Regions from separate parts of the Homo sapiens genome. Here regions 2 and 3 are each linked to region 1. The links are contacts of gene promoters, found by promoter capture Hi-C in human tissues and cell types (Jung and others, 2019). All regions are on one chromosome and are shown on one strand. Each heading gives the region's core, a stretch centred on a gene start or on the middle of the fragment in contact. The rest is flanking DNA. Distances are from core to core; before and after follow the strand shown. Region 1 holds the start of CACNA2D3 (calcium voltage-gated channel auxiliary subunit alpha2delta 3). Region 2 overlaps CACNA2D3 (calcium voltage-gated channel auxiliary subunit alpha2delta 3). Region 3 overlaps CACNA2D3 (calcium voltage-gated channel auxiliary subunit alpha2delta 3).

The links. Contacts are between HindIII fragments. The study calls those that stand out against the background at their distance.
Region 2: a contact is called between a fragment that was not itself captured here and the fragment with the promoter of CACNA2D3 in region 1, in 2 of the 25 tissues and cell types used here (hippocampus and neural progenitor cells).
Region 3: a fragment that was not itself captured here is called in contact with the fragment with the promoter of CACNA2D3 in region 1 in 2 of the 25 tissues and cell types used here (neural progenitor cells and pancreas).

What each region holds. Positions count from the first base shown.
Region 1 is chr3:54,121,164-54,124,493 of GRCh38, reverse strand. CACNA2D3 (calcium voltage-gated channel auxiliary subunit alpha2delta 3) reads right to left here and starts at 1,942. Exons shown (of 38, transcript NM_018398.3): 1 at 1,659-1,942; 2 at 900-981. The coding sequence starts at 1,780. LOC124909381 (a long non-coding RNA gene) reads left to right here and starts at 1,052. Exons shown (of 2, transcript XR_007095914.1): 1 at 1,052-1,437. RefSeq lists a silencer at 3,136-3,185. The HindIII fragment of the contact is 8,759 bases long and covers 1-3,330 here.
Region 2 is chr3:54,158,220-54,161,750 of GRCh38, reverse strand. All of the region lies in intron 2 of CACNA2D3 (calcium voltage-gated channel auxiliary subunit alpha2delta 3), which reads right to left. Among named protein-coding and RNA genes, the nearest start is that of CACNA2D3, 37 kb to the right of the region's middle. The HindIII fragment of the contact is 5,633 bases long and covers 1-3,531 here.
Region 3 is chr3:54,182,083-54,185,252 of GRCh38, reverse strand. All of the region lies in intron 2 of CACNA2D3 (calcium voltage-gated channel auxiliary subunit alpha2delta 3), which reads right to left. Among named protein-coding and RNA genes, the nearest start is that of CACNA2D3, 61 kb to the right of the region's middle. The HindIII fragment of the contact is 5,314 bases long and covers 1-3,170 here.

The DNA.
Region 1 (3,330 bases), core at 693-3,192:
AGAGAATTATTCCCTAAAGGCCAATTTTATTTTCTATCATCAAGAGAATACTTTGATTAATCCTGTTGATCTGCTAACTTGAAATTCTTTGAACCCCTCTAATCTCTCCTCCCAGACCCATTTTTTTTTCTTTATTTCCTGAAGGGGAGAACGAAGGACCATTTATCTCACAATGTAATTTTAAGCTTATGCTTAAAATGCTGCCTATTTGAATTAAAATTGATGCAGCTTGTGATAAGAACCTAATAATCAATTCTCCATTCTCATTACTCTCCAGAATTACATGGATGCAGACCCATTTCTTAAGTTTGTGGACTACTCTCATAGGTTATTACCCGGCAGTGCAGCTGAGTGGAAAGATAACCACATTCATTCTCCTTATCTGCAATGATGTAATGCATCCTAGCCCTGGGTCTAGATGATTGGGGAATAATGGGATTGTACAACTGCAGGGATGACAAACAATAGTGCAGCGTCTTTCTCTGATACACTGAACCCCACGCCTCCAACGCAAGGTGAAAGGCATCACAAAATAGGCACTGAGTCTGCCCCTTGGATGAAGTTAGCATTTTTTGGCCCGAGGAGCATCTGCTCTGGCACTGAAACAGCAATACCGACACGGAGACGAGAGCCATGCAAAAACACTCAGTTTCCGAGCCCCAGCCAGGACAGTGCGAGTGAGTATCCTGCTTTTCTTTGTGGTTAGAATCAAGTGTCATCTAAAAATAACCGGTTGGTAGGAAGAAGTCACTGCATAGTACAATGCCAAGAAACCCGGGGATCAGAGAGTCCTCCGATAACTGATGCTGCTCGGGGCTCACGTTTGTTTGGAAAACTAAATCTGCCTCCATTTTCTGTGCCGGAAAAATCATCGCTTCCTGCCACCACAGAAACCTTACCTTTTGCAGAAGCTGGGAACCGGAGTACTTAGCAGCAATGGATTTTATCTCCCCACCAAAAGCCGAGGCCCAGAGCTTCACCCTACAGGGAGAAGGGGCACAGGAAGATATGTAACACCCGTGTCACAGTCAACACGCACGCACACGCACACGCACACATGGGACTATGGCTGAAGGAGCAGTGCGATGTAACATGTTTTAAAAGAAGAAAAGATAGAAAAAGCGGCTTGGTAGAAACTGCCAGCACCAAAACTGCAAAGCGCAGCGCGGGAGGGGGCCCGAGGGGGGTCGCGGAGTTAAGAATGCGCAAAGTCTCCCAGGCTCTCTAAAAAGACCACTGAGTTTCATTCGAACCACTGCCCGAGGACTCGACCCCCCAAACTGGGCATCACCTGGCAAATAGCAGTCAGAAGAAATCCACCCATCCCCCCCCCAAAAAAAGAAGTGGGGCGGCAGTAGAGCAAAGAGGGGGGAAATTCAGCGGCCCATGGAAGTTGGATTCGGTAACCAGGCTCCAAAGTTGGTGCCGTCACTTGAGGTGAGCCTCTCCAGATCTCACTCGGCAACCTGCGGGCAGGGGCCAGAGCATCCCACCCCGGCCTCGCCGCCCGACGCGGGTCCCGAAAGGCAGGTGCGAGCGGCGAGGCCGACGCCCGCGGCGGGTCCTGCCCAGCCGCACCTGCAGGCGCCCAAACTTGGGCACAGTGGGTCGCAGGCGGCAAGGTCCCCTCCCCGGGCGGCGCAGGAGCCGGCACTTACACGGAGAGCGGTATCTGCTGCTCCGAGCGCACCACGTCCCCCAGCGCGGCGTAGAGAAGCGCGGCAGCGAGAAGCGCCGAGGCCCCCCGGGACGCGCGGCGCGGCGAGCCCGGCCCGGCCATGCTGGGCTCCCTCCGACGCGCCCGCTGCGGCGGCGACGAGAGCGGCCGCGGGGAGCTGCGCGGAGCGGGCGGTGGGCGAGCGCGCGGGGCTGCCTGCTCCGCTCCGCGCCGCCCCGCCTGCCTCTCGCGCGCCCGGCTCACTTGGGGAGCAGAAAAAGGAGCGGGTGGGGGGGGCGGGGAGGGCGGAGAGGAGAGGGAGGGAGGAGAGGTGGGGAGGGAGGGAGGAGAGGTGGGGAGGGAGGCGGGCGGGGGAGGAGGCAGCGAGACGCGCCTCTAGCAGCAGCAGCCGCCCGGCCCCGCCTCGGCGGCCCCGGGGAGTCCGGCGGGCCGCGGCGGGAGGGCGGCGGGGCAGGAGGCGCCGCGCGGGCGGGGACTCGGAAACTCCAGTGTCCTTGGCCGCGGCGGAGCGCGCCCTGCCCCACCCGGGCTACTGCGGCCGCTGAGTTCTTTACAACTCCGCAGTCCGCCACCGCGGGCGCGACTCTGGGGCTGGCCCCGGGCCGGGCGACCCTAGCCAGGGTGGGGGTTGGGGGCGCGGGAGGGAAGCCGAGGGCAGGGCGCGGCGCTCCGCACTTTGCGGGCGGCTGCTAGGAGAGGGCGTAGCATGCCCGCTCCGCCCCTGGGCCGGGCGGGGTCGGGGGCCGCGGAACCTAAAGGGGGCGCGCCCTCCGCCCCCGCCGCGCGATTCTCCTGCGGGGAGGGAGCTGGGGAAGAAGCAGAAATCTCAGAAAGGAGCACAGGCTCGCGGCGGCAGGCGGGATCGCACGCGGGGCGGATCGGGCTGGGGATGGGACTGGGTGGGAGCTCGGGGCTCTGGCTAGGGCAGCGCTGCGTGACCGCCCGCAGCTGCTCCTCCGGCCGCGGCGCCCGACAGGGGAAAGCACGGAGGGCGGTGCTGCCACCACGGCTTGGGCGCACCAGCGCGGGGCTCCCGGCATCCGGCCGCAGCGCAGCGGCCCCCTGCGCGCCCGACCCAGGCCCCGGGGCTCCCCAGCGGCCGCTGCCTTCGGAGTCCGCCCGGCTGCGGTGACTGGTGGGGACCGGGATGTCAGGGTTGAGCGAGGAAGCCAACGCGGCGCCGAGTCGATCCTGACCGGGGGACACCCTGGATTTCGGGATAAAAGATTTCTCCGAGCCTGGGGGATTGCCTGCTCCCCACTCCGGCGCCCACCGCACTGGGCAGGAGGCAGTGAGCGCCGGAGGAGGCGCCTTCTCGCCGCCCTCAGGGGCGAGGAGAAAGGAAGCCGGAGAAGCCCCTGCGCGTTCTGGGAACCAGGCTTCTCCCCGCCTCTCTCGCCGCTGCCCCCACCCCGGGACCCAGCTTGCAGAACCCCTCTCCCCCGTGCGAGGTATGGGGTGTGATTGGGAACTTTGTGGAGCCCTCGCGCAGGCTGGCGGTAAAGACCGACCGGAGTGAGGCTGAGTCATCCTTGCCCGGCCAAGCGCAACTCCGGTGACCCCAGCAAGGAGTGCGCTCCTAACGTCGCCGGGGCTCCCGGCGCACCAGACACCTGGGTTCATATTTGCATGCCTTTCTGCAACCAGGGCTT
Region 2 (3,531 bases), core at 675-3,174, 37 kb before region 1:
AAAGAGGATGGCAACCTAAGAATGATGCTTTTCATATCATGATATTGAACAGGTTTGTGAAGCTGCTACCTAAAAAAGCAACAGTCATTTCAAATACAATGAACATGCTGGGAAGGGCACACAAGTTTGCACTGCTTTTTAAGGTCCTTGGCTTAGAACTTTGTCATCAACAACTCTTCTGTTGCCACTTAAGCCTGAGCTTTGTCAGCATATATGCCATTCAGTTACTAATTCATATGCAGAAGCAAAGGTGGGCTAACTGTGACGCTAAAGACACTCACAATTCAGGGATCCTCCCTGGTAGGTGCCCCTCCAAGGGGAACTAACATGTGTTCACAGGCCTATGTTTTTGAAAATTAACAAAAGTAGGATATTTTAATCTCAATTGGCTAAGACTGCTGTCTCCTTTACCCCAACTTGCCCGTCATGCTTCTCTTCTGAGCAGGTGGCAATGGTATGGCCACGGCAGTGTAAGGATCTGGTGAAGGGGGAGTTCAGTGGAGATGGGTTGGGTTTGGGTGCAGAGGGCTATCTGTATGTTTTATTTCCCTGTATGGTCATTGCTGGTTAGTAATATTGGCAGAGCTGGGATTCACACCGCTTTTACGTGTGTGAAGGGAATAATTTCAACATGGCATGACACTGTCTTTCATGAACATATTGCTCCCTTACTAAACAACTGCCAGCACACAGCCCTTTCCCACCTGCACACAGGCTCCCCTTTCAATGGCATCCACACAGCTGCAAACCTGGCACCTGGCTGCCTCCCCACACTGGACTCGCCTGCTGGACTTCGCCTTTGCTCATGTTTTTCTTTCGGCAAAATGGTCTCATCCAATCCCATTTCTTCAGGCAATTTAATTTCTTACTCCTTTGACATAAAAATACTGATCTCAATGAAAAATAACATAAAACTCATAAAATACACAGAAAATGAGGACACATTACAAATTGGTTAATGAGTGTCTTCCATTCAAAGAACATTTAAGATCAGTTACCGCACAGAAAACTTGAAACAACGTGAAGTCTCACAGCTTACTTCTGAAAGAAATTGGAGAGAGGTCTTCCCAGATTTGACAACAAGCCTAAAAACATATATGACAATGCCAGTAACAAGCAGTGAAGCTAAAGGAAACTTTTCTAAATGATCAATAGTAAAAATCAAACTTCCATCACCCATTCTAGAGCTGGGGCTCTGACTGATGCCAGGGTCTCAGCAATTCCTTTATTTTATTTTATTTTATTTTTTTTGAGACAGAGTCACCCTCTGTTGCCCAGGCTGGAGTACAGTGGCGCAATCTTGGCTCACTGCAACCTCTGCCTCCCAGGTTCAAGCAGTTCTCCTGCCTCAGCATCCTGAGTAGCTGGAATTACAGGCGCCCGCCACCACACCCAGCTAAATTTTTGTATTTTTAGTAGAGATAGGGTTTTGCCATGTTGGCCAGGCTGGTCTCGAACTCCTGCCCTCAGGTGATCCACCCACCTTGGCCTCCCAAAGTGCCGGGATTACAGGCATGAGCCACTGCACCCGGCCCCAGCAATACTGATTTAATGGACCTAGGGAGCATCTGAACATTAGGATTCTTAAAAGTTCCCAAAATATTCTCCTGTGCAGACCATGTGGAAAACCACTGCCAGAAGAGAATGAATCATCTTCCTATTCTCTCCATAGAAAACAATATTACAAAATCATCATCATATGAAGAGTAGATCAACAAGCACTCAGCCAAAAACTAGAAGAAAGAAACAAGATTACAGAGCTTGCCAGGCAGTTAATTAAAACAATTTATAAAATAATAATAATTGTATGTTATCTTCTGGATGTTTGTAGTATGTTTGCTATATAAACGATACTTTTATCTTTCAGATTAAATAATGTGTTGTGATTTCTTTCCTATTCATGATTTTGTCTCTTTTTTTTATAAAGTCTATCTCCCCCAAATTGCAAAAGCTTGAATCCTCTCCAGGGAAAAGAGCAATATTTTGTGTATTATTTTTCAAAAGAGGGAAATTCTATTGGTCAAATTAGATTTTTAAAAAATTTTGTGGGTAACAAATCCAACCTAGTCCCAAGAGGATTAGACATAGAATCAACATTTACCAGTGTTAAGCCCATGGGAACTTGATGATTCTGTCATAATTGCTTCCATATCTTGCACCCAACACAAGCCTGGCACACGGGAGGCACCGGAGAAAGGTTCATTGAATTTGTTTTTCTTGATTTACCCCCTCTTCTACCACAGGATATACTTCAGCTATGCAGAATATAATTTCTTATGATATTAAAATTTAGAATTTTTTTCCTTAAACTGCATCACTTATTATACAGTTATTAAAAAGGACTCTTATGATGTGTAATAATACCATGTAAAACATAATGTTCATGACAAAGCACCTAAAATTGTACATACCAAATGATCACAACCAAATTAAAGCACAATGCACTGAGCAAGGAAAAGTCAAGAAGGAAAAAAAAAATGACCACGTTAATATCAGGGATGTTTGGGTATAAAACTATGGATTTTTTTTCTTAAACTTATTTCTACATCCCCACTTTCTAAATCATCTTGAATGATCATGTTCTGTTTTTATGATGACTGAATCAATCAAAATCCCAACAGAAAATAAATGATCCAGGCAAACAAGAATAATTTAAAGAGGGTTTGATTCAAAAGGATGATTTAAACTGGAGGGGAGGCAAAGCTTCTGGCATTGGAAACAATACAATTGCTGGGCAGTGTGAACAGACACGTGACTCTTAGAGGCTTCTTCCAGGAGATAAAACAGATCACCCCCACTCATAATCCACTGGCCAAAGTAAGTCATACGACAATACTTAATTTCAGCAGGGCAGGGAGTTCGATTTCATGTGCACAGAGGTAGGACAAATGAAATATTTGTAAACTAATGACCATCACAGAAGAAGGACCCAGAGAGCCTACTTCTTTTGCATGTATGCAGATGGGCAGGTCTGACATGAAGCTTCAAGCAAAACAGGATCAAAAGTGCTTGCTAAGTGAGCAAATGAAAATCATTTCCCCAAGAGGAAGTGCTCTCTCTCCACTACCTCAAACAACACAGAAAAACAAGCACTGTGGGCGAAGTCCATGTGGGAACTTGATCATGGAAAAAAAACAATTATTAGCCCTGAAAAACTAAGGGTGTCCATCTAGTCCCGAGAAGCCAGTTCAGTATCTACAGTACTCTTTGTTATTCAAGAGATTCGATTTTATGTAAAATGGAAAAGTCGGTTTATCCTGGAGAGAAGACACATGGCATAATTCTCACTGGGGTGGGCTGGACACAGGAAGCCCACCTCATACTGTTCTTAAAGCTCAAGATGAGCTCCTTTTTTCCCCACAAGTGGCAAACCCTGGTTATACTGTTCAAAGAGAGAATCGATGCTGAAAACACTTTCAAGTCAGTCTGGAACAAAATTTCCACAGAAGGCATCCGAAATAAAATAGCTCACAAAAGGAGCTAAATTAGCAGGTATGGGGATCTGGCTGCACCCAGGGTGACCTCACAGCT
Region 3 (3,170 bases), core at 30-2,529, 61 kb before region 1:
TTGTACCCTAAAGAGCTTATGTGTCAGGGCAAAGCAGAGCTTGGAAACTTCTATAAGCCATTTAGAAGAACTGCAATCTGAAAAGTACAACAATCACAACTTATGGTATTGAAACAGGTTTTTCCATTACTTCAACCTTCTAACCAATGGGTTCATTACTATCCTGTCAACAGAAGAATTTCAGCATTTATGAACAGAACTTACAGGAAACATACACAAACCCCTCCCACTTCTAAGGCACAGGACCTTTGGCTCAGACCTTTGGGGTAGTCACACAACGCCAAATGAATCCTCCCGTAAGGGCTTCCCTACCTAGCCTACGTCCCTGGTCACTAAGAAGTCATTACCCTCGCTAATACTAGAAATGGTTGGGGCTCTCACCTCAGAATGTTGCTGACAGAGATAAACATTGCAACATTCCATTGTTTGCTCCAGAAAACTCCAGAATTTCAGTTCCAGAGGCAACCTCCCTCCATTTCACCCACATTAACTACTCTGAATCAAAGAAAAAACAAAGAAATGCAAACCAAGAAGAGATAAGAACTGAAGAACCTCATGTCCCCAAATGGATTCAATGCCATCGAGTATGATAATAACCCACATAAACCATAAAGTACTTCCCCATGGGATGGCCCATTTCACATGTCAGCCAGCCATGAAGGCAAGGGAAAGATGAGGTAGGGGCTGCACTAAGGCCTATGTATGCTCTGGGGATTGGGGAGACAAATGTCCTTTTCTCCTATAGCCAATGCTAAGCACAGCCTGGGTTCAAACCCAGACCTCAGGACTCTAAGCTCATGATCTTGGGCAAATGACCCAGACTCTCTAATACTTCATTTCTATGCCTCTAAAATTGGTGATGGGAGGATGGGGGAGGGCTTAAGGCCTTAGCACAGAGTAAGTGAACACACATAGGAAGTGGCTACTATTCACTCAATTATATAAACATTGCCTACCTGTAGTCTGGGGCTGCAGCAATGACCAGAGGCAGCGCACAGCCTGAAGGGTTTGTCAAGTGTGCGCCAAATGTTCCGACAGAACCTCTAGGGCTCCAGCTTTCCCCAATCAGCCTGAATCTCTGATCACTCTGTTTTCCCAACTCTGTAAGAGTACTTATTTCCTGCACTCAAAGAGATAGAAAACAACATGTGCTTGTGCTCATGACAATTACCCTGCCTTCAAGCTTGACCTGGGACAGCTGTGTCTCATTGAAAAAGACCATCACAAATGCACCGGAATGCATGCCATGGAAAAAGCAGATGATTCCTGCTTTTTGATTCCACAGTCAAGGTAATTCCACTTTGCTTCAAATGAAAGGAAGTAAGGCTCTTCTTTTTTTTTTTTTTTTTTTTTTTTTTTTCTTTTTTGAGACGGAGTTTCGCTTTTGTTGCTGAGGCTCGAGTGCAGTGGCGCAATCTCAGCTCACTGCAAACTCTGCCTCCCAGGTTCAAGTGATTCTCCTGCCTCAGCCTCCCGAGTAGCTGGGATTACAGTCATGCGCCACCATGTCCGGCTAATTTTTGTATTTTTAGTAGAGACGGGGTTTCACCATGTTGGCCAGACTGGTCTGGAACTACTGACCTCAGGTGATCCACCCGCCTCAGCCTCCCAAAGTGCTGGGATTACAAGCGTGAGCTACCGTACCCAGCCAGGCTCTTATTAAACTCAGGCAAATGTGAACCTAGAAATTGAGAGAACACAATACACAGATTTTTTTTTTAATCTATGGGCTTCCTGAAAGTAAAAGTTTTAGAAAGGAAAAAGGCGCGTTGGCAAAAAGCACCCAAGTATATGGGCCAGGATGCAGATCTAACCCTGCCACCAATCAGCTATGTGACACTAAACAGGTCACCTCTTCTTCACAGGCCCCAGTTCCCTCTCAGCCTGCAAGAGGGCAGGCCACCACAAACCCCACAGCTGCTTACCACTCCAAACACTAAAACCCTATCAACCAGAATTAGGTGCAAACTACTATGGAATTTTGAAGTCTCTCTGCATTTCTTTCAATATATTTTCTGAATAGAAAAAAAAAAAAAAAAAATTTTCTTTATGCCTCAATTCTCCCAAACTCAATTCCACTTTCTTAACCACCGGTAATTGTGATGGTTTTTATTCCAATTTTGTTGGGGTCAAGCAAATTACATTTCACAACATGAAAAATATTTTGGGGGGGGAATGAGGTCAACTTCAGAAACGACAAATACAGTAAAGCTTTGTCTCTGATTATTTCCCACAGGAATATGTAGATTATATCTTTTACATGGGGACAAGTTGTGATTTAAAGAAATGTCATAATGTGCTGTGAAATAAACTCAGAAATAGGCTTTCCACCCAATGTCTGATAGATTAGTTCCTCTGCTTGTTAACTGAATTTGTGCATCGGCTTCTATTCATGACTCTGATTGTTATTTTCAAATTGTCTCTTGAGCTATATGGTGCTTCCAGGATTTATTTTCCAGCCTGTGGCATGATAAGCAGTTTCTGCCATCCCAGTGGAAACCCACAGAGAGGAAGTGATCGCCCAGGGCCCACTTTCCCAACCACCAACCACAGCAAGTGCAGAGCACTCAGCCACAGCAAAGTAAAACCCAACCAAATTAACTGGTAGAGTTATCTAACATAGTCACTCTAAATCAAATAACGTAGTAACATTTGTTTCAGACTACAGAAGAAACATTAGATGTGAAAATAAAGCCATTCGTTGGATTTTTCAAAGGAATGGGAATCAAAGTTTTACCAACTCAGAATCAACATCCTGTTCCCATCTGCCCAATAGGAAGGAATGCATTTATTTATGCCAGTGACGAGCGGACTCCTGGCATCTGATTTTATTTATTACAGTATCACATTACAGAAAGCCATTTGTTACCTCTTCTTTATGCTTACAATAAAGGGTGACAATATTTATCAAAAAACTCATTATCAAGTGAGACAAAAAGCTAAAATTGGATTTCCAAAATAAAAATACCAATCAAGCAAAATCTCATTTAAAGCAAAAAGATTTTTCCATTCTGACAGGATTACTGAATGCTGATGAGTTCTCAGGGAGTGTTGGACAAGGCTGTACTGCTAAGTGGCTTACCCAAAACACTGTCATTTTTCATAAGTCCTAGCATAGAAAACACAAGTATTTGCATTAAAATTATTTTATAACTTCAGCTCTGGGGCAA